Linked DNA regions of Homo sapiens: all the other regions are linked to region 2. Evidence: promoter capture Hi-C in human tissues and cell types (Jung and others, 2019). All regions are on one chromosome and are shown on one strand. Each heading gives the region's core, a stretch centred on a gene start or on the middle of the fragment in contact. The rest is flanking DNA. Distances are from core to core; before and after follow the strand shown.

Region 1 (4,738 bases), core at 937-3,436, 150 kb before region 2:
TCAATTGTCTTAATTCATTTCAAATCCATGAAAGGACTCACACTGGAGAGAAACCGTATGAATGTAAACAATGTGGTAAAGCCTTCAGTTGTTCCAGTTCCTTTAGAATACATGAAAGAAGTCATAGTGGAGAGAAACCCCACGTATGTAAACGATGTGGTAAAGCCTTCATTTGGCACAATTCCTTTTGAATACATGAAAGAACCCACACTGGAGAGAAACCCTATGTATGCAAGCAGTGTGGCAAAGCTTTCATTTATTGTACAACTTTTCAAGGACACATGAGAATGCACACTGGAGAGAAGCCCTATAAAGTGTAAAGAATGTGGAAAAGCCTTCAGTCATCCCAGTTCATTTAGAAGCCATGAAAAAATACACCCTGGCAGAAAACTTCTTGAATGTAAGTAAAGTGGGAGTTTTCAACTTGCCCACCTCCTTACAAAAACATGCAATAAGAATGTGCTAGATATAAAGCTTACAAATGTGAGAAATACAGGAAGTTTTTCAGTTTTAACAAATACTGTCAAAGTCATGTGAAAATTCTCACTAGAAAGAAATCCAATAAAGGCAAGTTGAGGCATACCTGTTTGTTATTCAGGAATTTGCTATAAGGTTATACTGGGGGAGGGGGTGCCATGTTTAAATTCAATGGTATCTTAAGGTAAAACTGTAATTTAAGCCCCAGTATTGATTAAGGACATGGAAATTTGCCAACTGATGCATTTCAACGGATGTTGAAGTTAATTCGGAGCCTGTTTTGTAGAGGTGTGAAACCCAGTCAGCACCCATTTATTTTTTTGCTGTTATTTTAATAAACTTTGGATTTCTAATTTGATCAAATTATGGACCTTTGTCTCAATTTTTTTCTTTTTTCTTTTGGTGATTGCAGGGTGAGGGAGAGGGGTGTTCTGTGTACCCTACTTATATTTATATCCTTCATTCTCTAGAGAGCCTCAAGTCAGTGTCATCATGGTTATGGGCCTCCCTCATGGCAGTGGTTGCTTTAGAGGGTTTCAGGACTGTGGGCTTAAGTCTGATTTAAATTAAGGGTATCTCTCTGAAGTCTCTATTCTATTCCTTTGCTCTGTTTTTTTTTTTTTGTCTTTCTTTCTTGAGACGGAGTCTCGCACTGTCACCCAGGCTGGAGCGCAGTGGCGCGATCTTGGCTCACTGCAACCTCCGCCTCCCAGGTTCAAGCGATTCTCCTTGCCTCAGCCTGAGATTACAGGTGCCCGCCACCACGCCCGGCTAATTTTTTTGCAGTTTTAATAGAGACGGGGTTTCACTATGTTGGCCAGGCTGGTCTTGAACTCCTGACCTAATGATCTGCCCACCTTGGCCTCCCAAAGTGATGGGATTACAGGCGTGAGCCACCACACCCGGCCTCCATTGCTCTATATATCTGCCTTTATGTCATGTCAACACCACACTATTTTGATTACTGAAACTTAGAGTAAGTTTTGAAACTAGGAAGAGTGAGGCTTCCAGCTTTGTTGTTCTCTTTTTCTTTTCTTTTCTTTTTTTTTTTTTTTTTTTTTTGAGACAGAGTTTTGCTCTTGTTACACAGCCTGGACTGCAGTGGTGTGATCTCGGGTCACTGCAACCTCTGCCTCCCAAGTTCAATCTATTCTCCTGCCTTAGCCTCCTGAGTAGCTGGGATTACAGGCATGTGCCACCACACCCAGCTAATTTTGTGTGTGTGCAATGGCTCGATCTCGGCTCACTGCAACCTCCGCCTCCCTGGTTCAAGCGATTTTCCTGCCTCAGCCTCCCGAGTAGCTGGGATTACAAGCATGGGCCACCATGCCCGGCTTATTTTTTTGTATTTTTAGTAGAGATGGGGTTTCTCCTTGTTGGTAAGGCTGGTCTCGAACTCCCGACCTCAGGTGATCTGCCTGCCTCAGCCTCCCAAAGTGCTAGGATTACAGGCATGAGCCTCCGTGCCCAGCCAAAACTTAGAGTAAGTTTTGAAACTAGGAAGAGTGAGGCTTCCAGCTTTGTTGTTGTTTTTCTTTTTTTTTTTGAGACGGAGTTTTGCTCTTGTTGCACAGGCTGGAGTGCAGTGGTGTGATCTCGGGTCACTGCAACCTCCGCCTCCCAGGTTCAATCGATTCTCCTGCCTCAGCCTCCTGAGTAGCTGGGATTACAGGCATATGCCACCACACCCAACTAATTTTTTGTGTTTTTAGTAGAGACGAGGTTTCATCATGTTGGCCAGGCTGGTCTCGAACTCCTGACCTCAGGTGATCCACCCACCTTGGCTTCCCAAAGTCCAGGGATTACAGGCGTGAGTCACCATGTCCAGCCTGTTGTTCTTTTTCAAGATTGTTTTGGCTATTTGGGGTCCTTTGAGATTCCCTGTGAATTTTAGGATGAGTGTTTCTGTTTCCAGAAAAAAATGTCATGGGCCTTTTGATAATGATTGCTTTGAATTTGTAGAGCATTTGCAGTAATATATTGACACCTTAACAAAATTAAGTCTTTTAAATTATGAACACAGAATGTCTTTCCATTTATTTATAGCTTTAATTTCTTTCAGTAACGTTTTATAGTTTTCAGTATACAAGTCTTTTGCTTTTTTGGTTAATTTTTTGTCATGGCGTTTTGCTGCGTTGTCCAGGTTAGTCTCAAACTCCTGGGCTCAAGCTGTTCTCCCATCTTAGGATCTTCAGTAGCTAGGACTGCATGTCTGTGTCACTATAGCTAGCTGTTTTTTTGTTTTTGTTTTTGTTTTGAGACAGGGTCTCATTCTGTCACTGCACTGTAGTGCAGTGGTGAAATCATGGCTCACTGCAGTCTCAACCTCCTGGGCTTAAGTGGTCCTCCCATCTCAGCCTCCCAGTAGCTGGGAGTACAGGCACAGGCCAGCACGTCCAGCCAATTTTTTTTTTTTTTTTTTTTGTAGTATGAGGTCTCACTTTGTTGCTCAGGCTTGTCTTGAACTTCTGGGTTCAAGTGATCCTCCCACCTTGGGCCTTCCAAAGTGCTGATTTTGCAGGTGTGAGCCACTGTGCTTGGCCTGTTTTATTCTTTTTGATGTTATTACTAATGTAATTGTTTTCTTAATTTCCTTTTCAGATTATTAACTGTTAGTGTATTGAAATGTAATTTTAGGCTGGGTGCAGTAGCTCACACCTGTAATTCCAGCACTTTGGGAGGCTGAGGCGGGTGGATCATGAGGTCAGGGGTTTGAGACCAGCCTGACCAACATGGTGAAACCCCGTCTGTACTAAAAAATATAAAAATTATCCGGGCCTGGTGGTGGGCAGCTATAATCCCAGCTACTCAGGAGGCTGAGGCAGGAGAATCGCTTGAACCTGGGAGGTGGAGGTTGCAGTGAGCCAAGATCGCACCATTGCACTCCAGCCTGGGCAACAGAGCGAGACTCCGTCTCAAAAAAAAAATGTAATTTTAAATGTTAATTTTGTACCCTGCAACTTTGCTGAATTCATTTATGAGTTCAGTTTTTGTGTACATATATGTGTATGTAATCTTTAGGATTTTCTACACATAGGATTATGTCATCTGCCAACATAATTTTATTTCTTCCTTGCCCATTTGGATGCCTTTTGTTTTTCTTTTTTTTTTTTTTCTGAGACAGAGTCTCACTGAGCCACCCAGGCTGGAGTGCAGTGGTGCAGTCTTGGCTCACTGCAACCACCGTCTCCCGGGTTCAAGCAATTCTCCCGTCTCAGCCTCCCGAGTACCTGGGATTACAGGCACCCGCCATCATGCCCAGGTAATTTTTGTATTTTAGTAGAGACGGGTTTTCATCATGTTGGACAGGCTGATCTTGAACTCCTGGCCTCAGGTGATCCACCCGCCTCAGCCTCCTAAAGTGCTAGGATTACAGGCGTGAACCACTGCGCCCAACTGGATGCCTTTTCTTTTTCTTACCTAATTACTCTGACTAGCTCTTCCAGTACTATATTGAATGGAAGTGGTGAAAGCAGTTATCCTATCTTGTTTCTGATCTTAGGGGAAAAGATCACCATGTTTATATTTCACCATTAAGTATGATAGTCTTGTAGATTCTTCATATATGGCCTATTACATTGACCTAGTTTCCTCCCATTCCTAGTTTGTTGTTTATCATCAACGGGTCTTGAATTTTGTCAGATGCCTTTTGTGTATCAATTGAGATTACTGTGATTTTTCCGTCATTCGGCTAATGTGGTATATTATATTGACCGATTTTCATAGGATGCACTGTTTGCATTCTGGAGATAAATCTCACTTGATCATGGTTTAGAAGTTTTTAAAAAATACAGATGTAGTCTTGCTCTGTTGCCCAGGCTGGAGTGCAGTGGCATGATCATAACTCACTGTAGTCTCCAAACTCCTGGGCTCAAGCAATCCTCCCACCTCAGCTTCCCAAGTAGCTGGGACTACAGGTGCATGCCACCACACCTGGCTGATTTTTGTATATTTTGTAGACACAGGGTCTTGCTATGTTGCTTTTCATATGCCTGTTTGCCATTTGTATGTCTTCTTTTGAGAAATGTCTATTCAAATCCTTTGCCTATTTTTTGACCAGATTATTAGATTTTCTTCCTATAGAGTTGTTTGGGCTCTGTATATATTGTGGTTATTAACCCCTTGTCAGAGAGGTAGTTTGCAAATAAATATTTTCTCCCACTCGGTGGGTTGTATGTTCACTTTATTGATTGTATCTTTTGCTATGCAGAAACTTTTGTAACTTGATGTGATACCATTTGTCCATTTTTGCTTTGGTTGC
Region 2 (4,338 bases), core at 366-2,865:
TTATTCTCTGCTTCCTCACATGTGAAATGTTCAGGAACACAAATCTTTTAAGAAGCCGGCCGGGCGCGGTGGTCACGCCTGTAATCCCAGCACTTTGGGAGGCCGAGGCGGGCGGATCACCTGAGGTCATGAGTTCGAGATGAGCTTGGCCAACATGGTGAAACCCCGTCGCTACTAAAAATACAAAAAATTAGCCGGGTGTGGTGGTGGGTGCCTGTAATTCCAGCTACTCGGGAGGGTGAGACAGGAGAATTTCTTGAACCCGGGAGGCGGAGGTTGCGGTGAGCCGACATCGCACCATTGCACTCCAGCCTGGGCAACAAGAGCACAACTCCATCTCAAAAAAAAAAAAAAGAAAGAAAGAAAAAAAGAAGCCATCCATTGCTCTCTGAAAACAAAATGAAAATTAAAATACTGGGACTCTGAAATTTAGCACGGGTGGGGCGGAGGAGGGAGGAGTTCATGATGTTGCTGTGAACTGAGGAGGGAAAGTTAGCCTGCGTAAGGCTCTGGAAACCAAGGGAGTTACTACCACCCCTAGGAGGAGTTAGAATGAGGGAACAGGGTAGTGGATTTGAGACCCTGCTACCCCCATCTCTGAAAAACTCGAAGAGGAATCAGTCACCCTGGGAAGAAAAGAAGGGACTGGGGACCCCGCAGACCACAGCTCCTCCCGTGCACAAACCCCACGCAAGAATCTGGATTCTGATTGCAGTTAGATATTAACCAGGTACCCTGAGCCCCACTGCCTCGCGGGGGCCGCCTTCCTGAGAGTCAGGTCACAGAAGACACTGACCGCCGGCTTCTGCATTGTGCCTGGGGATAAGATCTCGGAGAGCTGCTCGAGTTGCCCAAGTTCTTTCTCAGATCTTGAATTCCAACGGAAAGGCTGGCGCCAAGCAGGGTGAAAACCCCACGAGGGAACCCACTCAGCAGGAGAATGCGGTTTCTTCACCTCCCGTCCCAGGATTCGCCTGTCACTTCCCCACCAACCAGCGACCCCACACTTCAGCCGCCCCTGTCCAGACCCCTAAACACCCCCATCCCCAAACCTCTCATGGAGGCGGAACTGGGGTCTTCTCTCCTCTCCCCCTATTAAACTGTTTCTGCTGCAGGCCTTGGAGTCTCGGTGCAGTGACTCGGACCGCGAACCTGTGCCGGTTACAGCCGCACAATCTGGGAAGACGCGGAGCTGTGGGCATGGAGCTGCCCCAGAGAGGGCGCGGGAGCCGGGGCCGCAGTTGCTGCGCAGAAACGGGACAGGACGCCCGGGGTCCCGGCTGCCGGCCCAGCCCCCAGCTCCCACCCCGCGGCCGAGGGGACTGAAGGCCGGCTGGGCCAGGGGAACTCGGGTCCACAGACCCCGCAGTCGCCGCGGGGACGCCCGGGTCCCGCCACAGCCGGTTCTGGCCGGTTCCAACCAGTCCTTCGCCCTGCCCCAGGACGCCGGGCCCCGCACACTCACCATTTCCCGGCTTCCGCGGTGTCCCGTGTTCTCCCCAAGGTTCCCCGCTGCCAGCATAGGACTCAGCGTGACAGTGCCTGCCACTGACCTGCCAGGGCTTCTCTCAGCTACAGAGCCAGGAGCGGGAGCTCAGAGGGGTGTAGAAAGCTCCACCCTCCTCCCGGCAGCGCGCCTGACTGGCAGTTCCCAAGAACTCGCCCCCAACACTGATTGGGTAGAGCTCCAAATTCCGCCCCCCCAGGGAACTGATTGACAGAAGAAGGATCTTACACGGCTGAGTGGAGCGAGATGAAGCGGTTCCAGACACAGCCCTTGATAGGGTGGGCTTCCTCCCTTCGCTGTGACCTGACCCCTCCCAGGGGACATTTGCATTTAAGCGGAATTTCCTGCCTGTACTCAATGGGCTCTTCCTGCTCCTTCTTCCTGGACGGGGACCCACAAGTGTGTGCTGGGAATTCGAGACTCACTGCCCAGTGGAGCCATCCCCTGGCCTCAGAGCGGTAGGGGAGGCCCAGGCCACACAAACCACACTGAAGCAGGAGGGAAGGCCTGGTGTCCTCCAGGGATCAGGAATTTAGGATGAGACTGCTGGCTCCATGGTCAAGCCTTTCTCCCACCTTATCTCCCAATCTACTCATTCTCAGACCAGAAAATAAAAACACATCAACAATGAAATAAAATTGTTAAATGCATGGAAAATCTGGAATTATATGGCAGTAATCTTCTATAAAGGAATCAAAAGAAGGGAAAAGAAAAAACCTGAATTAGTTCAGAGAAATTTCAGCCACAGTTCAGCAGGAAACCCCCTTTCAGGAGGTTAAACATATTTTCAAGCTTAGAAGGCAGATTCTGACTCCTGAAGTTGAGTCCCAGAGTGTGTAACCAGCAGCTTAGCAGCTGAGTCTCAAACCACGTTTTAAACCTTTTTTTTCTTCTTCTTTCCCTTTTCCTCTTTCCCCTCCTGATCTCAAGATAATAACTTCGAGATAAACTGCATAGATGTTACCTCTCATCTTAAAATACAGCCTCAGAATGTGCTGTGAACTTCCACTCCCTTTCCTTTCCCATACTACACTGCCATGCCTTATGCACATTTATTTTTATTTTATTTTTTTGGAGACGGAGTCTCACTCTGTCACCCAGGACAGACTGTAGTGGCTCAATCTTGGCTCACTGCAACCTCCGCCTCCCAAGTTGAAGCAATTCTCCTGCCTCAGCCTCCCGAGTAGCACACTGGACTACAGGTGCACGCTGCCATGCCCAGCTAATTTTTTTGTATTTTAGTAGAGACAGGGTTTCACCATGTTGCCCAGGCTGGTCGTGAACTCCTGAGCTCAGGCAATCCGCCGGCCTCGGCCTCCCAAAGTGTTAGGATTACAGGCGTGAGCCACCACGCCTGGCCTGTGCACATTTATTTACCTAAATACTTATTAAGCACACACCATGCTCTCTTATTTGGTCATATATTTCCTTAGAAGCTTCAGGGGTTGGATCTTGTTAGGTACCAGGCACCTCTGGAATTCTCTTTCCAACAAAAGATTACTTCAAAGACAGAACCCACACCCAGCTGAAGAGTGACTACTATCGGGGAAACCAGCCCCCAATATTTCAACGTAGGTTCTATTTTCCCTAAGTGTCGGCCCATCTGAGAAATTAAGAGAAAGAGTACAAAGAGAAGAATTTTACAGCTGGGCCTCCAGGGGTGACATCACATATCGGCAGGTTCCATGATGCCCACCTGGGCTGCAAAACCAGCAAGTTTTTATTAGGGATTCTAATAGGGGAGGGGGTGTACGAACAGGGAGTAAGTCACAAAGATCACATGCCTCAAAGGGCAATAAAAGATCACAAGGCAAAGGCAAAATTAGAATTACTGATGAGGGTCTGTGTCCTGCTGTGCATGCACTGTCTTGATAAACATCTTAACAGGAAACAGGGTTCGAGAGCAGACAACCAGTCTGACTAGAATTTACCAGGCTGGAACTTCCCAATCCTAGTAAGCCTGAGGGCACTGCAGGAGACCAGGGCGTATTTCAGTCCTTATCTCAACTGCATTAAGACAGATACTCGCAGAGCAGCCATCTATAGACCTACCCCCAGGAATGCATTCCTTCCCCAGGGTCTCAATTATTATTATTATATATATTTTTTTGAGACAGAGTCTCACGCTCTGTCCCCCAGGCTGGAGTGCAGTGGCACAATCTCGGCTCACTGCAACTTCTGCCTCCTGGGTTCACACTGTTCTCCTGCCTAAGCCTCCCAAGTAGCTGGGACTACAGGCGCGTGCCACCATGCCCGGCTAATTTTTTGTATTTTTAGTAGAGAAGGGGTTTCACCGTGTTAGCCAGGATGGTCTCGATCTCCTGATATTGTGATCCACCCGCCTCGGCCTCTCAAAGTGCTGGGATTACAGGCATGAGCCACCACACCTGGAAGGGTCTCAATTATTAATATTCCTTGCTGGGAAAAGAATTCAGTGATATTTCTCCTACTCACATGTCCGTCTATAGGCTCTCTGCAAGAAGAAAAATATGGCTTTATTCTGCCCAACCCCACAGGCAGTCAGACCTTATGGTTATCTTTCCTTGTTCCCAGAAAATCGCTGTTATTCTATTCTTTTTCAGGGTGCACTGATTTCATATCATTCAAATACAAATGTTTTACAAACAATTTGTACAGTTAATGCAATCATCACGGGGTCCTGAGGTGACATACATCCTTAGCTTACGAAGATAACAGGATTAAGAGATTAAAGTAAGACAGGCATAAGAAATTATAAAAGTATTAATTTTGGGAACTAATAAATGTCCATGAAATCTTCACAATTTATGTTCAGAGACTGCAGTAAAGACAGGCGTAAGAAATTATAAAAG
Region 3 (4,584 bases), core at 1,902-4,401, 200 kb after region 2:
GGTGGCGGGAGCCTGTAGTTCCAGCTACTCGGGAGGCTGAGGCAGGAGACTGGCGTGAACCCAGGAGGCAGAGCTTGCAGTGAGCGGAGATCGCACCACTGCACTCCAGCCTGGGCAAGAGAGCGAGACTCCATCTCCAAAAAAAAAAAGTATACCACTGGATTCTGCAAACCTCCCGAGCACACGTCGGTAGCCGGCTCCCTGGCTGTCTGAATTACCAAGCTGTCTCCCCAGCTGTATTTCCAAAATGTCGCTTTCTAACAAGCTGATGCTGGACAAGCTGGACGTGAAAGGGAAGCCGGTCGTTATGAGAGTCGACTTCAATTTTCCTATGAAGAACAACCAGGTAACAAACAACTGGAGGATTAAGGCTGCTGTCCCAAGCATCAAATTCTGCTTGGACAATGGATCCAAGTCAGTAGTCCTTATAAGCCACCTAGGTTGGCCTGATGGTGTCCCTATGCCTGACAAGTACTCCTCAGAGCCAGTTGCTGTAGAACTCAAATCTCTGCTGGGCAAGGATGTTCTGTTCTTGAAGGACTGTGTAGGCCCAGAAGTGGAGAAAGCCTGTACCAACCCAGCTGCTGGGTCTGTCATCCTGCGGGAGAACCTCCGCTTTCATGTGGAGGAAGAGGGAAGGGAAAAGATGCTTCTGGGAACAAGGCTAATGCTGATCCAGCCAAATTAGAAGCTTTCCAAGCTTCACTTCCCAAGCTAGGGGAAGTCTATGTCAATGATGCTTTTGGCACTGCTCACAGAGCCCACAGCTCCATGGCAGAAGTCAATCTGCCACAGAAGGCTGGTGGTTTTTTGATGAAGAAGGAGCTGAACTACTTTGCCGAGGCCTTGGAGAGCCCAGAGCGACCCTTCCTGGCCATCCTGGGCAGAACTAAAGTTGCAGACAAGATCCAGCTGATCAAGAACATGCTGGGCAAAGTCAATGAGATGATTATTGGTAGTGGAATGGCTTGTACCTTCCTTAAGGTGCTCAGCAACATGGAGATTGGCACTTCTCTGTTTGATGAAGAGGGAGCCAAGACTGTCAAAGACCTAATGTCCAAAGCTGAGAAGAATGGTGTGAAGATTATCTTGCCTGTTGACTTTGTCACTGCTGGCAAGTTTGATGAGAATACCAAGACTGGCCAAGCCACTGTGGCTTCTGGCATACCTGCTGGCTGGCTGGGCTTGGACTGTGGCCCTGAAAGCAGCAAGAAGTATGCTGGGGCTGTCACTCAGGCTAAGCAGATTGTGTGGAATGGTCCTGTGGGGTTTTTTGGGGTTTTTTGTTTGTTTGTTTTTTGAGATGGAGTCTCACTCTGTCACCCAGGCTGGAGTGCAATGGCGCGGTCTTGGCTCACTGCAACCTCCACCTCCCTGATTCAAGTGATTCTCCTGCCTCAGCCTCCCCAGTAGCTGGGACTACTGGTGCGTGCCACCACGCCCGGCTAATTTTTGTATTTTTAGTAGAGACCGGTGTTTCACCATGTTGACCAGGCTGGTCTCGAACTACTGACCTCATGATCTGCCCACCTCGGCCTCCCAAAGTGCTGGGATTACAGGCATGAGCCACCGCGCCCGGCCTTCTGTAGGGGTTTTTGAATGGGAAGCTTTTGCCCGGGGAACCAAAGCCCTCATGGATGAGGTGGTGGAGACACTGCCACTTGCTGTGTAGAATGGAACATGGAGGATAAAGTCAGCCAGGTGAGCACTGGGGGTGGTGCCGGTTTAGAGCTCCTAGAAGGTAAAGTCCATCCTGGGGTTGATACTCTTGGCAATATTTAGTACTTTCCTGCCTTTTAGTTCCTGTGCACAGCCCCTAAGTCAACTTAGCATTTTCTGCATCTCCACTTGGCATTAGCTAAAACTTTCCATGTCAAGATTCAGCTAGTGGCCAAGAGATGCAGTGCCGGGAACCCTTAAATGGTTACACAGAATCTCAGCTCATCTCTACTGCAAAAATTCAAAAAGTGAGGTGAGAGGATCGCTTGATCCTGGGAGGTTGAGGCTGCAATGAGCCATAATCTTGCCACTGCACTACCTGGGAGTGACACCCTGTCTCGAAACAACAACAACAACAACAACAAACTGGCACTCCACATTCAAAGGGAAGAGAATTAAACTCCATTTAAAGGGACTAAACGTTTCTGTCTCCCACCTCCAATAAATTAATATAATAAATCCCTACTCTCCAGTGTGCTGGTATTTGCAGATGGGGCCTCTGGGAGATAATTGGTGAGGTCTTGAGGGTGGGGCACGCATGATGGAATGAGTTACCTTATAAGAAGAGACACCAGGGCCGGGCGCGGTGGCTCCCGCCTGTAATCCCAGCACTTTGGGAGGCCGAGGTGGGTGGATCATGAGGTCAGGAGATCGAGACCATTGTGGCTAACACTGTGAAACCCCATCTCTACTAAAACTACAAAAAATTAGCCGGGCATGGTGGCGGGCACCTGTAGTCCCAGCTACTTGGGAGGCTGAGGCAGGAGAGTGGCGTGAACCCAGGAGGCGGAGCTTGCAGTAAGCCGAGATCGCGCCACTGCACTCCAGCCTGGGCCACAGAGTAAGACTCTGTCTCAAAAAAAAAAAAAGAAGAGACACCAGGCTGGGCGTGGTGGCTCACACCTGTAATCCCAGCACTTTGGGAAGCTGAGGCAGGAGGATCCTTTGAGCCCAAGAGTTTGAGGTTGCAGTGAGCTATGATTGTGCCACAGCACTCCAGCCTGCGTGACAAAGCGAGACCCTGTCTCAATAATAATAATAATAGGCTGAGTGTAGTGGTTCACACCTGTAATCCCAGCATTTTGGGAGGCCTAGGTGGGCGGATCACCTGAGAACAGGAGTTCGAGACAGTCTGGCCAAAATGGTGAAACCCCATCTCTACTAAAGATACAAAAATTAGCCGGGCATGGTGGTGGGCACCTGTAATCCCAGCTACTTCGGAGGCTGAGACAGGAGAATCACTTGACCTCAGGAGGCAGAGGTTGCAGTGAGCCAAGATCGCACCACTGCACTTCATCCTGGACGACAGAGTGAGACTCTGTCTCAAATAATACTACTACTAATAAATAATAATAATAATGAAAAAACACCAGAGACCTCTCTTTCTCTCTGTCTTTCTCTCTGTCACCCCTATGCCCTCTTCCCAACTTGAGGACACAACCAGAAAGTAGCCATCTTTGAGCCAGGAAGAAAGCCCTCACCAAGAACAGAATCTACTGTCATTTTGACCTTGGACTTCATGGTGTCAAGAATCGTATTTTGTTATTGTATTTTGTTATTTTGTAATCGTATTGTATTTTGTTATAGTGGCTCAAGTAGAGTAAAAGACAGAAATGGCAAGAAAGTTAAACCCATCCCACTAGAGGTTTGTCATGGAGGGGACAGAGCGTTGGGTTTAGGCCTGAGCTTTGGAGTTGGAAAGAATTGAGTTCATACTTAGGCGGGGACCTTGAACAAGTCCCTTGAGTTCTCTAAACCTCAATAGCCCCTTCTGTAAAACGAAGATAATAAAGTTGTTGTGAGTGCACCTTGAAACTGCAAGACACATGTCTTAGCACCAGGTAGGCACTCAATAAATAGAGGTAGTGCTATTCTTTTTATTAATGTCTTTCTAGTTGGTCATGCTAATGATATAGTGGGACAGGCAGAACTGGGTCTTCAAGACTTCAGGTGCCAGGCTGAGGAGCTTGGACTTGCACTTGAGAGCACTAGGGAGCCATGGGAGGTGTGTGAGCAGGGAAGAGAGAGAAAAATGTCCCTTTGGTGCCGAGGTGAATGACTAGGAATTGAAGTTTGGGAGACCAAGGAGGACACTTTGACAGGTACCCAGGTGAGTGTCTAGACCTGGGTGGTGGCAATTGGGATGATGGGAGTGAGAAGAAATAAGTAGGTCAGGCTTGGTGGCTCATGCCTGTAATCCCAGCACTTTGGGAGGCCAAGGTGGGTGGATAACCTGCGGTCAGGAATTCAAGACCAGCCTGGCCAACATGGTGAAACCCTGTCTCTACTAAAAATACAAAAATTACCCAGGTGGGGCCAGGTGCAGTGGCTCACGCCTGTAATCCCAGCACTTTGGGAGGCCGAGGCGGGCAGATCACAAGGTCAGGAGTTCAAGACTGGGCTGACCGACATGGTGAAACTCTTGTCTCTACTAAAAATACAAAAATTAGCCAGGCGTGGTGGTGCGTGTCTGTAATCCCAGCTACTCGGGAGGCTGAGGCAGGAGAATTGTTTCAACCCGGGAAGTGGAGGTTGCAGTGAGCCGAGATCATGCTACTGCACTCCAGCCTGGGCAACAAGAGTGAAACTCTGTCTCAGAAAAAGAAAAAAAAAATTATCCAGGCATGGTGGCAGGTACCTGTAATCACAGCTGCCAGGGAGGCTGAGGCAGGAGAATCACATGAACCCGGGAGGTGAAGGTTGCAGTGAGCCGAGATCGCGCTACTGCACTCCAGCCTGGGTGACAGAGTGAGACTCCGTCTCAAAATAATAATAATAATAATAAATAAATAAATACATAAATAAGTAGTTAAGTAGTTCAAGATGAGTATTGGGTATAGGGCTTGAATGGTAGCTCCACGACCC
Region 4 (4,427 bases), core at 924-3,423, 140 kb before region 2:
CCGGGCGTGGTGGCTGATGCCTGTAATCCCAGCAGTTTGGGAGGCCAAGGCAGGCAGATCACCTTGAGGTCAGGAGTTTCAGACCAGCCTCACCAACATGGTGAAACTTCGTCTCTACTAAAAATACAAAAATTAGCCAGGTGTGGTGGTGTGCACCTGTATGTAATCCCAGCTACTCTGGAGGCTGAGGCAAGAGAATTGCTTGAACCCAGGAGGCAGAGGTTGCAGTGAGCCAAGATCGTGCCATTGCACTCCAGCCTGGGCAACAAAAGTGAAAATCCGTCTCAGAAAAAAAGTTTTAGAATAGCCATACTTAAAGACGCAATTGACAAGGATATCTGTTACCTTTGTGGCACACAATAATTTTAACATAACAATTATAATTATTACTTATAAGGTACACTAAGATATGTCAGAATTATAGGAGTCTCCCATAACTTTGAAACACATACCAATAACATACTTATACAAATATAGCCCAAAGAAAGCCAAACACCATTTTGTATTTGACAATGCTTCCTGTATGATTTTATACCAAATATGCCAAATTTTACCATTATAGTAGTGTGCTATGAATATTAAACTCCATTTTTAATAAAACCTTGTAGATGCATTTACTCAATTTTAATGTTTGACCATAAGGTAAGATTTTTATAGACCCTTTTTAACCCTTTATAATTTTTGTTAAAAAGCAGGTTAGTGCTTAAGAGAAACCCGTTGTGTTTTTATTTTAATGCTCAATTTACAGAAAAACTAGATGCTACCCCTTCAACTTTAGCCAATATGTTTACACAGAATTTCCTTTACAATTAACCTGCCAAAACGTGCTTAAACCTTCAAAACAATTGTTTAACTTAACTTTTTTAAACCTTCAAAACAATTGTTTAACTTTTTAATGTAGGTAAAAATCCACATTCTCATGCCTCCTTATAATCTTTTTACCAAAAGTGTATTTTACTTTCCTTACACACTTTCCACATAATTAACTTTCAGTAAAGTTTACTTTTGTTGAAAACCTTGGTAAGTTTGGGATTTTAATTATGTACTAGGTGTAGAGCCTAGGACCTAGACTTCTGTGCAGATAAGGTCTGGCTTAGTCCAGCATTTAATTCCGTGTGTCCTAGGTTTTACCTAGCTGCAAAGCAGGCAAGTTGTACAGGTAAGAGTTATAGGGGCATTTTATAAAGCAGTCAGGAGGCCTAATCACTTTTAAATTGTACATTTCTTGCATAAATTCCATTTATAAAATTTTTCATGCCTTTCACAGTCTGACATGCCTCAACTTTCTGACTTGTTGTAAACATCTCTCTCTTTAAACAACCAGTTAATTTACTTTAGTACAAAAATTTACCATATAAAATTTTTAAATATAAATTATCTTTTAATATAAAAGATACCAGTCCTTTCCCAAAACAAACTTCCTTCATGCCTGTGGACTAGACTGCCTAAGTCCATAAGATTAGAAGTTAGGATATTAAATGGCTTAGGATGTAGCTATTTTCATTAAACCAATATTAATGTTTCACTTATTAAAAAATTATACAAAGATTATTTTGTTTGGGCTGAGTCATAGTTTTGTTTGTTTTGATACCTTATAGTATTTGGCAGAGATAAGAATGAAATTGCTTGATTAATAAATGCAAACAAAAACATATGCTGGTAACTCTTAAGACAGTTCTAACTTTACTGTACCAGTAAGTTTTAAAGATTAAAGTCATGTGAACTGAAAGATCCCACAGCTTTTACTTTTCCCTTAAAAATATTTGATTTAAGCACTTATTTTTTTTGCCAATTATAATTAGAGTTCCTTTAATAGACATTGCACACATAACACATATATAACCACACAGACAACCAGAAGAAGATTCAGTAGTTACAATATTTTTTTTCTCCTAATTTCCCAATTGGCTTATTGGCCTTTGGGTGGTGCCCTTTAAGAACAGGGCTAGGAAAACAGTTTCCAGGGCCTAATAAACAAGTAGAGCTGGAAGACAAAGATTTTGAGAGGTACTTATTCACCTTTAATTCCAGGGGTTCCATAAGGAAAACAGATTTTTCCCAAAATGGGATTTGTGGTGCCTTTTCTGTTTTCCCAAGGGATCCCAGGCCACCAGAAACCGTTTTAGGATTTTATACATGCACCAAGAGTGGCAAGACAGAGTGGAAAAAAGTAATTCAGTTAACTGGGAAAAAACCTTTTCCAGGAAAACAAGATCTATGAAGAGAAGCCTTTTGAATATACTCATAGCTTGGAGGAGGGAAAGACCTGGAGAGGGTTTTCATTAGGAAGAAAGATATTTTTTTTTTTTTTGAGACTTTGTCTTGCTCTGTCACCCAGGCTGGAGTGTAGTGGCGTGATCTCTGCTCACTGCAAGCTCTGCCTCCCAGGTTCACGCCATTCTTCTGCCTCAGCCTCCCAAGTACTGGGACTACAGGTGCCCGCCAGCACACCCGGCTAATTTTTTGTATTTTTAGTAGAGATGGAGTTTCACCGTGTTAGCCAGGATGGTCTCGATCTCCTGACATCGTGATCAGCCCGCCTCAGCCTCCCAAAGTGCTGGGATTATAGACGTGAGCCACCACGCTCAGCCAGGAAGAAAGATTTAGGAAGAAAGATTTTATGAGAGGTGCAAACTTGACACAGGGAGCGTTGGGATTTAAAGTAGAAGCAGAAAGCCTGAATATAGAGAACCTCTTGCCATTTGCTGTTCTTGGTTATAAAGTTGTTAAGGTTCCTGAGAATTTGCAAGCTAAAGGTGCCATTTTTGGGCCATCAGCTGTCATTATCTAATGTGTATTGGGGCCAGGCCATGTTACAATAAAAGACTACATGCTTAAGCCAAGTTTGGCGAGGTTGTGAAGGAGACAGCACAGTGGAGAGGGTGTGGGAATGTGGGATTGTTTGGCACCCATGTGGACTGGCAAGAAGAAGCCGAGGGTGTCTGTTTTTGTTCTAGGCGTCCCCAGACAAAAGACAGAGACCTGGAGTTCTCTTTCTAAAGAGGATGGTCAAGCTGAGAAGAAACTGGGCATCCCCAAGATTTCCTCTAGCTTAGTCCCACTGGTCCTCTGAGGACCGAGATGGCAGACCTGACTTTTTCCAGATACCATGAGAAAGCCAGGGGAGGGCAGATCTTACCAGTCAGCTGGATTAGTGTCTGATGTTAACGTTCCAGTTGGCCTCTTGGGCTGCAGCTGCACAAGGGAGAGAGAGAAAAGGGAGGATTAGAGAAAAGTGAACTGAATAAAAAGACAACGAGTGGTGGCCAGAGACCTCCAGGATCCAGGAATTAACTCAGGACAAGCTGCTGTTGCCCACTGCTTCCTGGGTTGCAGGAGAGCCTCTGCCCCCAGCACCCATCCTGGGTTTCGGCACCAAATGTAAGAGTTAGAGGAAAGAAACACGAAATGCAGCTTGACAGTCAAAGACAGGTTTATTTTAGAAAAAACCTGAGAGGGGCTTCTGGCTGATTTCTGTCAGAAGTGCTTTCTCTTACAGACTAAGAGTGTATATTGGTTTTAGGGTGAGGGGGCTTATTACAAGCTTGGAATGTTTCTGTGTAGGGGAGAAGTTTATGGGGGCGTTGGAATGTCTCTGGGCAGAGGTGGATTATCTTGGGGCTAGCATGTCTCTGGTCTGGGAGGAGTTGGAATGTTTCTGGTTGGAGATGTTATTTGTGGTTTATGATCATGCTGACTTAGCCATTAGGCTGATGCCCTTTGGATTTAGGCAGTTTTTGATTAAGGTGACTTTTAAAATGAGGTGCTTGTCCACGATGGTGATGCTTCTACTCGGTCACCCAGCCTCTAGTCAAAGGCTTTTTTCCAGGAAGGGCAGAACTTCAGCTTTTCTCATCTTACCTCCACCTACCCATTACTGAGGTTATGTCCTGTGTGGGTATGTTTGAAAAGTGGGGACATGGTTTGTGAGTATGGTGCACTCAGACTACTAGGACACTGATCAACTTTGCCTCAGCTCGTAGAGGTGGTGGATCCATGCCAGGACACAGGCCAAGAGGACATCAGGCTGCTGTCCCTCCCCGCCACTGAACACTCAGTTCCTAAAGAGAGAGGATTACTCAGAAAGCAGCTTGCCAACGCTCCTACCCAAGCTTCAGAGCCCTGTCAGATTTTGCCTTGAGGTGGAAGAGAAGCAAGCTGTGAAACACATAGCTCCTAACCTCTTGCCTAAGAATTAACTTCAATTGCAACAGATCATGAGACATTTAAGTCAAAGGGCACTCCATCCTTGATGCAGTGGAAATGGGGAAATGGAGGTGAAAGACAATTCACAGGAGATTTGTGGATTTAATGAAGATACTGCCTGCACTGTAGGCCAGCTAATTTGTGGACAAAACCAGGAAAAAAACACTGTTAGGAGGAGTCCATTAAGCATCTAAACAAACAACTATTAAACGCTGATCTCA
Region 5 (4,619 bases), core at 147-2,646, 240 kb before region 2:
AAATTCTACTCTACTCTACTCTACTGTATTTATGTTATGTTATGTTGTTATGTTATGTTATGTTATGTTATGTTATGTTATGTTATGTTATGTTATGTTATTTTAGAGACAAGGTCTTGCTCTGTTGCCCAGGCTGGAGTGCAGTGTTGCAGTCTCAGCTCACTGCAACCTCTGCCTCCCAGGTTCAAGTGATTCTCCTGCTTCAGCCTCCCGAGTAGCTGGGATTACAGGTGGCCACCACCCCAGCCGGCTAATTTTTGTACTTTTAGTAGAGACAGGGTTTCACTATGTTGGCCAGGCTGGTCTAGAACTCCTGACCTCAAGTGATCCGCCCGCCTTGGCCTCCCAAAGTGCTGGGATTATAGGCATAAGCCGCCGTGCCTGGCCCCTGAAATACTTTTTAATATAGGGTGTAAGCCAGGCGCGGTGGCTCACATCTGTAATACAAATACAAATACAAAAATTAACCAGGTGTGGTAGTGCGTGCCTGTAATCCCAGCTACTCGGGAGGCTGAGGCAGGAGAATTGCTTGAACCCAGCAGGTGAAGGTTGCAGTGAGCTGAGATCGCACCACTGCACTCAAGCCTGGCGACAGAGCGAGACTCTGTCTCAAAAAAAAAAAAAGTGTGTAACAGTTGGTGAAAAGGTTCAAAAAAAAAAAGAAAAGAAAAGAAAGGTGACACTTAAATTTACATGACTTTTTTTTTTTTTTTTTTGAGACAGCGTCTTGCTCTGTCACCCAGGCTGGAGTGCAGTGGCACAATCTTGGCTCAATGCAAGCTCTGCCTCCCAGGTTCATGCCATTCTCCTGCCTCAGCCTCCTGAGTAGCTGGGACTACGGGCGCCCGCCACCACGCCCGGCTAATTTTTTGTATTTTTAGTAGAGACAGGGTTTCACCATGTTAGCCAGGATGGTCTCGATCTCCTGACCTCGTGATCTGTCTACCTTGGCCTCCCAAAGTGCTGGGATAACAGGCGTGAGCCACCGCACCCAGCCTACATGACTTAACTTTTTACCTTGTTAAACAGAGAGCAATCAACCCTGTGAACGTTATGTTCCAGATTCTGACAAGTGTGTTGAAAAAATTCTACACACTAAATGAAATAGGAGTAATGGGTGAGAGAGTGTGACCTTGAGTTTCAAGTTGGGGTAAGGGGGGCGGAAAAGAAGACAGTGTCTTGAGGTGGTGACATCTGTAGTGAGATCTGAAATGACGTGTTAGTATATGAAGTCAGGAAAGAGGATTCTGGGAAGATGGCAGAATAGGAAGTATCAAGCAGAAACTACAGGAAGCCATTTTTGTGAACTGAGTTCCTCTGCTGGGCCCTCAGAAACCAGACCTACCCCAGCGATTAGGAAATTACACCTAGGCAATCGTCATTGCCCCACACGCTACAAAGAACGTTCAGTAGACAATGGCTTGAGAAATGCGCCCAGTCCAATCTTTGGGTAAGCCAGGTGCAGAGATGTACAAAAAGACTGTCCTTGGCAAAGTTCTATGGTCACATGATGTTTGAGGCAGTTCTGCATATCATATGAGGGCCTTATTGGAGTTCTTGTGTATCTCTGCCAAGAGAGTACTGCACAGCAGAGGTCATTATTGCAACTTCCGTGCCATTTATTTATTTTGAGACAGAGTCTTGCTCTTTTGCCAGGCTGAAGTGCAGTGGCACGATCTCAGCTCACTGCAGTCTCTGCCTCCCGGGTTCAAGGGATTCCTCTGCCTCAGCCTCCTGAGTAGCTGGGACTATAGGAGCCCGCCACCACGCCCGGCTAATTTTTTGTATTTTAGTAGAGACAGGTTTCACCATGTTGGCCAGAATGGTCTCAATCTCCTGACTTCATGATCCGCCCGCCTCGGCCTCCCAAAGTGCCGGGATTACAGGCATGAGCCACTGCACCCAGCCACTTCTGTGCCATTTAATTGTTCACCAGTTGCCACAGGTCTATCTGTGTACACCTGAGTTGCTTGAGTGGTTCTAAACAAATGAATTTAACTTTCATTGTGGTGTTGAATTTTTGTATATACCTTTTATGAATTATTTTGACCGTGGGCTGACCAATATCATGAGTAAAAGATTTAAAAGGTCTAGAGGAGCCAGGCATGTTGGCTCATGCCTATAATCCCAGCACTTTGGGAGGCCGAGGCAGATGGATCGCTTGAGGCCAGGAGTTTAGAGACCAGTCTGGCCAACATGGTGAAACTCCAATTCTACAAAAAACACAAAAATTAACTGGGCATGGTGGTGTTCGCCTGTAGTGCCAGCTACTTGGGAGGTTGTGACGAGACTTGCTTGAACCTGGGAAGCAGAGGTTGCAGTGAGCTGAGATCGTGCCACTGCAATTCAGCCTAGGCAACAGAGCGACACTCTGTCTCAAAAAAAAAAAAAAAAAAGCCATAGGTAGGAAGCAAAATGTAAATAATGAGAAAAATATATATCTTAAGTTCACATTTGAAATATGTAAGAAAATTTGGTGATGCTGCAAATAAACTGAGGATTGTAATTATATAAATTACAAGTTTTTCCTGAGAAAAAACACATTTTCAACCTAAGTACATTGATCTTAAAGGATTTTTCCTTTGCTTTTTGACCTTGCTTTGTGAAAAAGTGCAAAAATAAGACATGAATAGTCAAAATAAGAATTTTTGGGCCAGGCGTGGTGGCTCACACTTATAATCCCAGCACTTTGGGAGGCCGAGGTGGGCGGATCACGAGGCCAGGAGATCGAGACCATCCTGGCTAACATGGTGAAACCCTGTCTCTACTAAAAAAAAAAATACAAAAAAATAGCCAGGCGTGGTGGCGGGCACCTGTAGTCCCAGCTACTCGGGAAGCTGAGGCAGGAGAATGGCGTGAACCAGGGAGGCGGAGGCTTGCAGTGAGCCGAGATCGCGCCACTGCCCTCCAGCCTGGGCAACAGAGCAAGACTCCATCTCAAAAAAAAAAAAAGGAATTTTTGGCCAGGCATGGTGGCTCACACCTGTAATCCTGGCACTTTGGGAGGCCGAGGCAGGTGGATCACATGAGGTCAGGAGTTTGAGACCAGCCTGGCCAACATGGTGAAACCCTGTCTACTAAAAATACAAAAAAATAGCCAGGCATGGTGGCAGGTGCCTGTAATTCCAGCTACTTGGGAGGCTGAGGCAGGAGAATCACTTGACCCCAGGAGGCAGAGGTTGCGGTGAGCCAAGATTGCACCACTGTCCTCCAGACTCTGTCTCCAAAAAAAAAAAATTCATATCTCACAAATCAAGGTATTTTCCATATGTCATCACACATAGTTAAGGTTTGGTCAGTCAGTGATTGCTTCTATGTCTGCTGGGACTGGGATTTTTACTCTAGGGAGACTGAAATAAGCTTTTGTGAAGAGAAGCACCCATGACACCTTAAAGGAAATGATCGGATTGTTCCATGCATGACTTTTCCACGATGTCATTAGCTTCATAATATTAGCATAAGAGGGTTCCTGACAAGTTTGCATCAACAGCATGTTACCAGAGAAAGAAAGACTTGATTGGAATAGTGATGCTGACTTTGTTCTTTACTGGGCAGGAAATTCAGTTTTCAAAAACATATTGGCCCCATAGGACTCAAGGTGATTTTTTTAAAAAAGTAGTAGCCAATTGTGGTGGCTCATGTCTGTAATCCCAGAACTTGGGGAGATGGAGACAGAAGAATCACATGATCCAGCAGTCAATGACCAGCCTGGGAAACAGGGAGACTCCATCTCTACAAAAAATAAATAAATAAAATCATAGTATATACCTTGATAAGAAGTGAATTTATAGATTTTAACTGAGGTATGTTATGGTTAACAATGTCCATAAATTGTAGGGAATATATCAGGGTTTAGAGAATAGTATGGTAAAAACTGGTCCAGAAGTCTGATGGCTGGCCTCCCCTCGCCAGAAGGCCGAGTCTTTTGCCCCTGAACAGGCACATGTCATACACCTGCAATGTGAGATGATGCTCTTCAGTGACCATGATGGATCAATACAAAAATAACTAATTCTTGGCAGGGCACAGTGGCTCATGCCTGTAATCCCAGCACTTTGGGAGGCCGAGGCGGGTGGATCACGAAGTCAGGAGATCGAGACCATGGTGAAACCCTGTCTCTACTAAAAATACAAAAAATTAGCCAGGCGCGGTGGCGGGCACCTGTAGTCCCAGTTACTTGGGAGGTTGAGGCAGGAGAATGGCGTGAACCAGGAAGCGGAGCTTGCAATGAGCCGAGATCGAGTCACTGCACTCCAGCCTGGGCGACAGAGCAAGACTCCGTCTCAAAAAAAAAAAAATTAAAATAAAAAAAAACCTCATTCTTTAACCATGTCTTGAAATGTGACAGAAGAAAACACTTTAAATTGCAAACATACCCCAAATTTTTCTCTTCTCACGAAATGTGACTATCTTTTAATATCTCACACATCTCACAGTCATCTATGGCTTTTGGTCATATTCATTACCACAGTATATTATTACACCCTCTTTGACGACACTTATGCCACTGGTGGTCTTTGGTCAGAAGTCACTCATAAGAACATGAGATCACCTTTGGTATTTAGAATAGATGAAAATTCATGATCCAGATAAAAACTAAGAATATAAGCATGAAAAGT
Region 6 (4,611 bases), core at 2,110-4,609, 160 kb after region 2:
TAAAATTCATATGGAACCACAAAAATAGCCAAAGCAATCTTGAGTATGACTTCACAATAGACTACAAATCTAAAGTAACCAAAAAAGCACCGTACTGGCATAAACATAGACAGACCAGTGGAACAGAATAGAGAAACCAGAAATAAATTCACACACTTACCAACGATTTTTGACAAAGGTGCCAAAAACACAGACTGGAGAAAGGACAGTCTCTTCAATGAATGGTGATGGGAAAACTGGATTATCAACATGCAGAACATTGAAACTGGACCCCTATCTTTCACCATATACAAAAATCCACTCAAAATGGATTACGGACTTACATGTAAGACTTGAAACTGTAAAACTACTAAAGGAAAACAGTAAAATTCTACATGACCTTGTCTGTGCAAGGACTTTGTGGATAAGAACTCAAACACACGGGCAGCAAAAGCAAAAACAGACATGAGATTACATCAAACATCTCAATCCCAGCATTATCTCACTCATTCCACCTCTGGGAGTTACTCTGGGGCAGTCTCTGGCTGGATTCATCTTTCTCTGTGCTCTGCACAGACCTAGTACCAAGGGGACTAGAAGCAGCATTTACTTGTTCACTAAAAAAGGGGTATCTGCAGGAAGGTGCTGCAGTTCAGGCTGTGGCCACGCTGGGGCATCAGTAGACAGGTAAAATGTAGTAAGATAACCCACAGAAGGTGCATCGTGACGTGCTTGACAGTAATTCTGTCTGAAGCGTTTTGTTTTGCTTTGTTTTGTTTGAGACAGGGTCTCACTCTGTCACACAGATTGAAGTGCGGTGGCATGATCTCAGCTCACTGCAATCTCCGCTTCCCAGGTTCAGGCGATTCTCCTGTCTCAGCCTCCCGAGTAGCTGGAATTACAGGCGTGTACCACCACACCCGGCTGATTTTTATATTTTTAATAAGAGACGGGGTTTCACCACGTAGGCCAGGCTGGTCTTGAACTCCTGACCTCAAGCTATCTGCACACCTCGGCCTCCCAAAGTACTGGGATTACAGGCGTGAGCCACTGTGCCTGGGCATAAAGTGTTTCCATTAGCAGTACTCATGTTGCGGTATTATTGTCATCATCATCATTTTCATAAAGTAGAAAGTAAAACTTCTCTCAATGGTACCCATAATTTACACTGAAGATGTAACTATTCCTTGAGAACAAGATAGAACCTGGCCTGGGAAACAGCACTAATGCTTGTAAATTAGTTCTGTGACAACTATTCTGATTTCTTCTATGGTTGCTTATTCTTCCATACCATGTAAGTAAATTCCGTGATTATTAGTTTTGGGTGATTCATGCTTTCCCCACTAGAAAGAACAATTTGGTTTATTACGCTATCTTCCACCCGTTTCTCCAACACCAGTCACTATTTCAGTCAGAGCATGAAGAAAAATAATTTTGGAAATGGAAACCTGATGTTCTGCCATTTAAAGGTACTTCATGAAATCCACTCCAAGAGGGATCACTTGCTTCATTTCCTTGCAGAGTTGTTTTTTGTTTTTTTTTTTTTTTTTGCGATGGGGTCCCACTCTGTCGCCCAGGCTAGAGTGCAGTGGTGCAATCTTGGCTCACTGCAACCTCCGCCTGCTGGGTTCAAGCAATTCTCCTGCCTCAGCCTCCTGAGTAGCTGGGATTACAGGCGTCAGCCACCATGCATGGCTAATTTTTCGTATTTTTAGTAGAGTTGGGGTTTCACCATGATGGCCAGGCTGGTCTCAAACTCCTGACCTCGTGATCCATCCGCCTTACCCTCCCAAAGTGCTGGATTACAGACATGAGCCACTGTGCCTGGCCCATTTATTTCTTTATTGTGCAAGCAGTGACTTATTTATCCACTGCTTTTTTTTTTTTTTTTTTTTGAGATGGAGTCTGGCTCTGTCACCTAGGCTGGAGTGCAGTGGCGTGATCTCAGCTCACTGTAACCTCTGCCTCCCAGGTTCAAGCAATTATCTTGCCTCAGCCTCCCAAGTAGCTGGGATTACAGGTGTGCACCACCACACCCAGCTAATTTTTCTGTTTTTAGTGGAAATAGGGTTTCGCTGTGTTGGCGAGGCTGGTCTCGAACTCCTGGCCTTAAGTGATCTGCCTGCCTCGGACTCCCAAAGTGCTGGGATTACAGACATAAGCCACCACACCAGGCCTGGCTCTCCATTTCTTGAACACCACCTTTACCCCAGGTACAGAATTAGTGGTAAATAGTTACACATTACCTATTACATAAACTTTCCATACCTAAGAAGTTCTCTCCCACCTTTTCTGGACACTATATGCTGCTATTTCTTCTCATATTCTTAAAGATTTCCGAGCAAAGAATTTCTATTTGCTTAAATTATCAGATATATATTTGATATACATGTCTGTGAATAGTGTGCAGAGGAAATTAAAAGTATCCCTCTTCAATAAAGGGAAGTGGTTATCATAGGCCCTGGGTCTGGGAGTGAGGTCCAGGTCTACAGTGAAGGGGGGAGGAGACAGGGAAGTCAATCCTGGGGATCAAATCTAAATGCCTACTAAAATCCAAATGGACTGTGTAGGAACAGGTCCCTCATGGATAGAAAAACGAAAAAAACAGTGCTGAGAACAAGTAGGAAAGAGACCTAGAGACTAGGCGCAGTGGCTCACGCCTGTAACCCCAGCACTATCGGAGGCCGAGGCGGACAGATCACTTGAGATCAGGAGTTCAAGACCAGCCTGGCCAACATGGCGAAATCCCGTTTCTACTAAAAATACAAAAATTAGCTGGGTGTGGTGGTGCGCACCTGTAATCCCAGCTACTCAAGAGGCTGAAGCATGAGAAGCCTTTGAATCTGGGAGGCAGAGGGTGCAGTGAGCCAAGATCTCACCACTGCACTCCAGCTTGGGCGACAGAGCAAGACCCTATCTCAAAAAAAAAAAAGAGAGACCTAGAGTGTCTTGGTATGCTGAAGGTCCCACAAGGTCTATGCAGTACTGTGGTCTTTTCTCCCTTTTTTGTGTGTAAAACATACATAAAATTCACCATCATAATCAATTTTAAGTGTACAGTTCAGTGCCATTAAGAACATTCATACTAGTGTGCAACCATCACCACCATCCACCTCTGGAACCCTTTTTATCTTGCAAAATTGAAACTCTATGCCCATGAAATAACTATCCATTACCCAATTTCCCTAACCTTTGGCAAATGGTATTGTACTTTTTCTATCAATATGACTACTCTAGATACCTGATATAAGTAGAATCATACCGTATTGTCTTTACATGAATGGCCCATTTCACTTAGCACGTCAAGGTTCATCTTGCAGCATATTTGTAAATTTCCTTACTTTGTAAGACTCAGTAATATTCTCTTGTATGTATAAACTTCCTTTTGTTTATTCATCTGTTGATGAAAACCTGAGTAGTTTCCAGAGTTTACCTATTGTGAATGATGCTATGTACACAGGTGTACAAAACCTATTTGAGACTTTGCTTTCAATCTTTTTTGTTTTGTTTTGTTTTTTGAGACGGAGTCTTGCTCTCTCACCCAGGCTGGAGTGCAGTGGCGCGACCTCAGCTCACTGCAAGCTCTGCCTCCCGGGTTCATGCCATTCTCCTGCCTCAGCCTCCCGAGCAGTTGGGACTACAGGCGCCTGCCACCACGCCCGGCTAATTTTTTTTTAGTAGAGACGGGGTTTCATCATGTTAGCCAGGATGGTCTCAATCTCCTGACCTTGTGATCCGCCTGCTTCGGCCTCCCAAAGTGCTGGGATTACAAGCGTGATCCACCACGCCCGGCCCTGCTTTCAATCTTTTTATTTTCCCAGAAATGGAAATGCTGATCATATGTTATTTCTATATTTTAATCTGGGGATCTGCCATACTGTTTTCAGCAGGCTTATACCACTGTACATTCCCAGTGATAGTGCACAATGTTCTCCAACATTCCACATCCTTGACAGTATTTCTTGTTTTCCATCTTTGATACTACTAATCCTAATGAGATGCTATGTATGTCTTGAGTTTGATTTGTATTTCCCTAATGACTAAAGATGTCGAGCATTGTTACGTGCTTATTGGCCATCTGGGTATCTTCTTTGGAGAAATGTCTATTCAAGTCCTTTCCTCCATTTTAAAATTGGATTGTGTCTTAGCTTGGGTTGCTAAAACAAAATACCATAAATTGGAAAGCTTAATTAATCAACAAACATTTATTTCTCATGGTTTGGGAGGCTGGGAAGTCCAATATCAAGGCACTGGCATAGTCCATGTCTGGTAAGGGCCTGCTTCCCGGTTCAAAGATAGCTATCTTCTCACTGCACCCTCTCATGGTGAAGGGCAAAGCTAGCTCTCTAGGGATTCCTATCAGGAAACTAATCCCAATTACAAGGCCTCCATCTTCATGATGTCCTCCAATCCTAAAAACCACCAGAGACAGGGCCTCCAAATACCATCACATTGTGGGGGAGAGGGGGGGCACGGGGGTAAGGTTTCAACATATGAATCTGAGGTGGCATACACTCAGCCAAAACATTACACCTCTGGCCCCCAAAATCCATGTCATCACATGTAAAATATATTCATCTCATCCCAAAGGCCTCAAAAGTCTCAGTTAATTCCAGCATGAAGCCTAATGTT

Evidence for each region. The method cuts DNA at HindIII sites, captures the fragments that hold promoters and counts their contacts. A contact is called where the count stands out against the background at its distance.
Region 1: a contact is called between a fragment that was not itself captured here and the fragment with the promoter of ZNF442 in region 2, in 3 of the 25 tissues and cell types used here (dorsolateral prefrontal cortex, mesenchymal stem cells and spleen).
Region 3: a fragment that was not itself captured here is called in contact with the fragment with the promoter of ZNF442 in region 2 in 1 of the 25 tissues and cell types used here (spleen).
Region 4: a contact is called between a fragment that was not itself captured here and the fragment with the promoter of ZNF442 in region 2, in 1 of the 25 tissues and cell types used here (mesenchymal stem cells).
Region 5: a fragment that was not itself captured here is called in contact with the fragment with the promoter of ZNF442 in region 2 in 7 of the 25 tissues and cell types used here (H1 embryonic stem cells, IMR-90 fibroblasts, dorsolateral prefrontal cortex and 4 more).
Region 6: a fragment that was not itself captured here is called in contact with the fragment with the promoter of ZNF442 in region 2 in 5 of the 25 tissues and cell types used here (heart left ventricle, lymphoblastoid cells, mesenchymal stem cells and 2 more).

What each region holds. Positions count from the first base shown.
Region 1 is chr19:12,209,032-12,213,769 of GRCh38, forward strand. It overlaps the pseudogene LOC100289333. Among named protein-coding and RNA genes, the nearest start is that of ZNF136, 48 kb to the left of the region's middle. The HindIII fragment of the contact is 4,844 bases long and covers 1-4,608 here.
Region 2 is chr19:12,364,068-12,368,405 of GRCh38, forward strand. It overlaps ZNF442 (zinc finger protein 442), which reads right to left and starts at 1,616. Exons shown (of 6, transcript NM_030824.3): 1 at 1,466-1,616; 2 at 735-1,176. RefSeq lists a silencer at 1,150-1,329 and an enhancer at 1,430-1,529. The HindIII fragment of the contact is 16,775 bases long and covers 1-2,621 here.
Region 3 is chr19:12,559,324-12,563,907 of GRCh38, forward strand. It overlaps the pseudogene PGK1P2. Among named protein-coding and RNA genes, the nearest start is that of LINC02926, 9.9 kb to the left of the region's middle. The HindIII fragment of the contact is 4,912 bases long and covers 696-4,584 here.
Region 4 is chr19:12,227,321-12,231,747 of GRCh38, forward strand. It overlaps the pseudogene LOC100289333 and a transcript of ZNF44 not described here. Among named protein-coding and RNA genes, the nearest start is that of ZNF44, 65 kb to the right of the region's middle. The HindIII fragment of the contact is 3,310 bases long and covers 519-3,828 here.
Region 5 is chr19:12,126,968-12,131,586 of GRCh38, forward strand. It overlaps ZNF20 (zinc finger protein 20), which reads right to left. Exons shown (of 4, transcript NM_021143.4): 4 at 4,383-4,619. It overlaps ZNF625-ZNF20 (ZNF625-ZNF20 readthrough (NMD candidate)), which reads right to left. Exons shown (of 8, transcript NR_037802.1): 8 at 4,383-4,619. Among named protein-coding and RNA genes, the nearest start is that of ZNF20, 11 kb to the right of the region's middle. The HindIII fragment of the contact is 9,523 bases long and covers 1-4,619 here.
Region 6 is chr19:12,521,555-12,526,165 of GRCh38, forward strand. It overlaps ZNF564 (zinc finger protein 564), which reads right to left. Exons shown (of 4, transcript NM_144976.4): 4 at 3,819-4,611. Among named protein-coding and RNA genes, the nearest start is that of ZNF564, 28 kb to the right of the region's middle. RefSeq lists a silencer at 481-775. The HindIII fragment of the contact is 4,073 bases long and covers 1,324-4,611 here.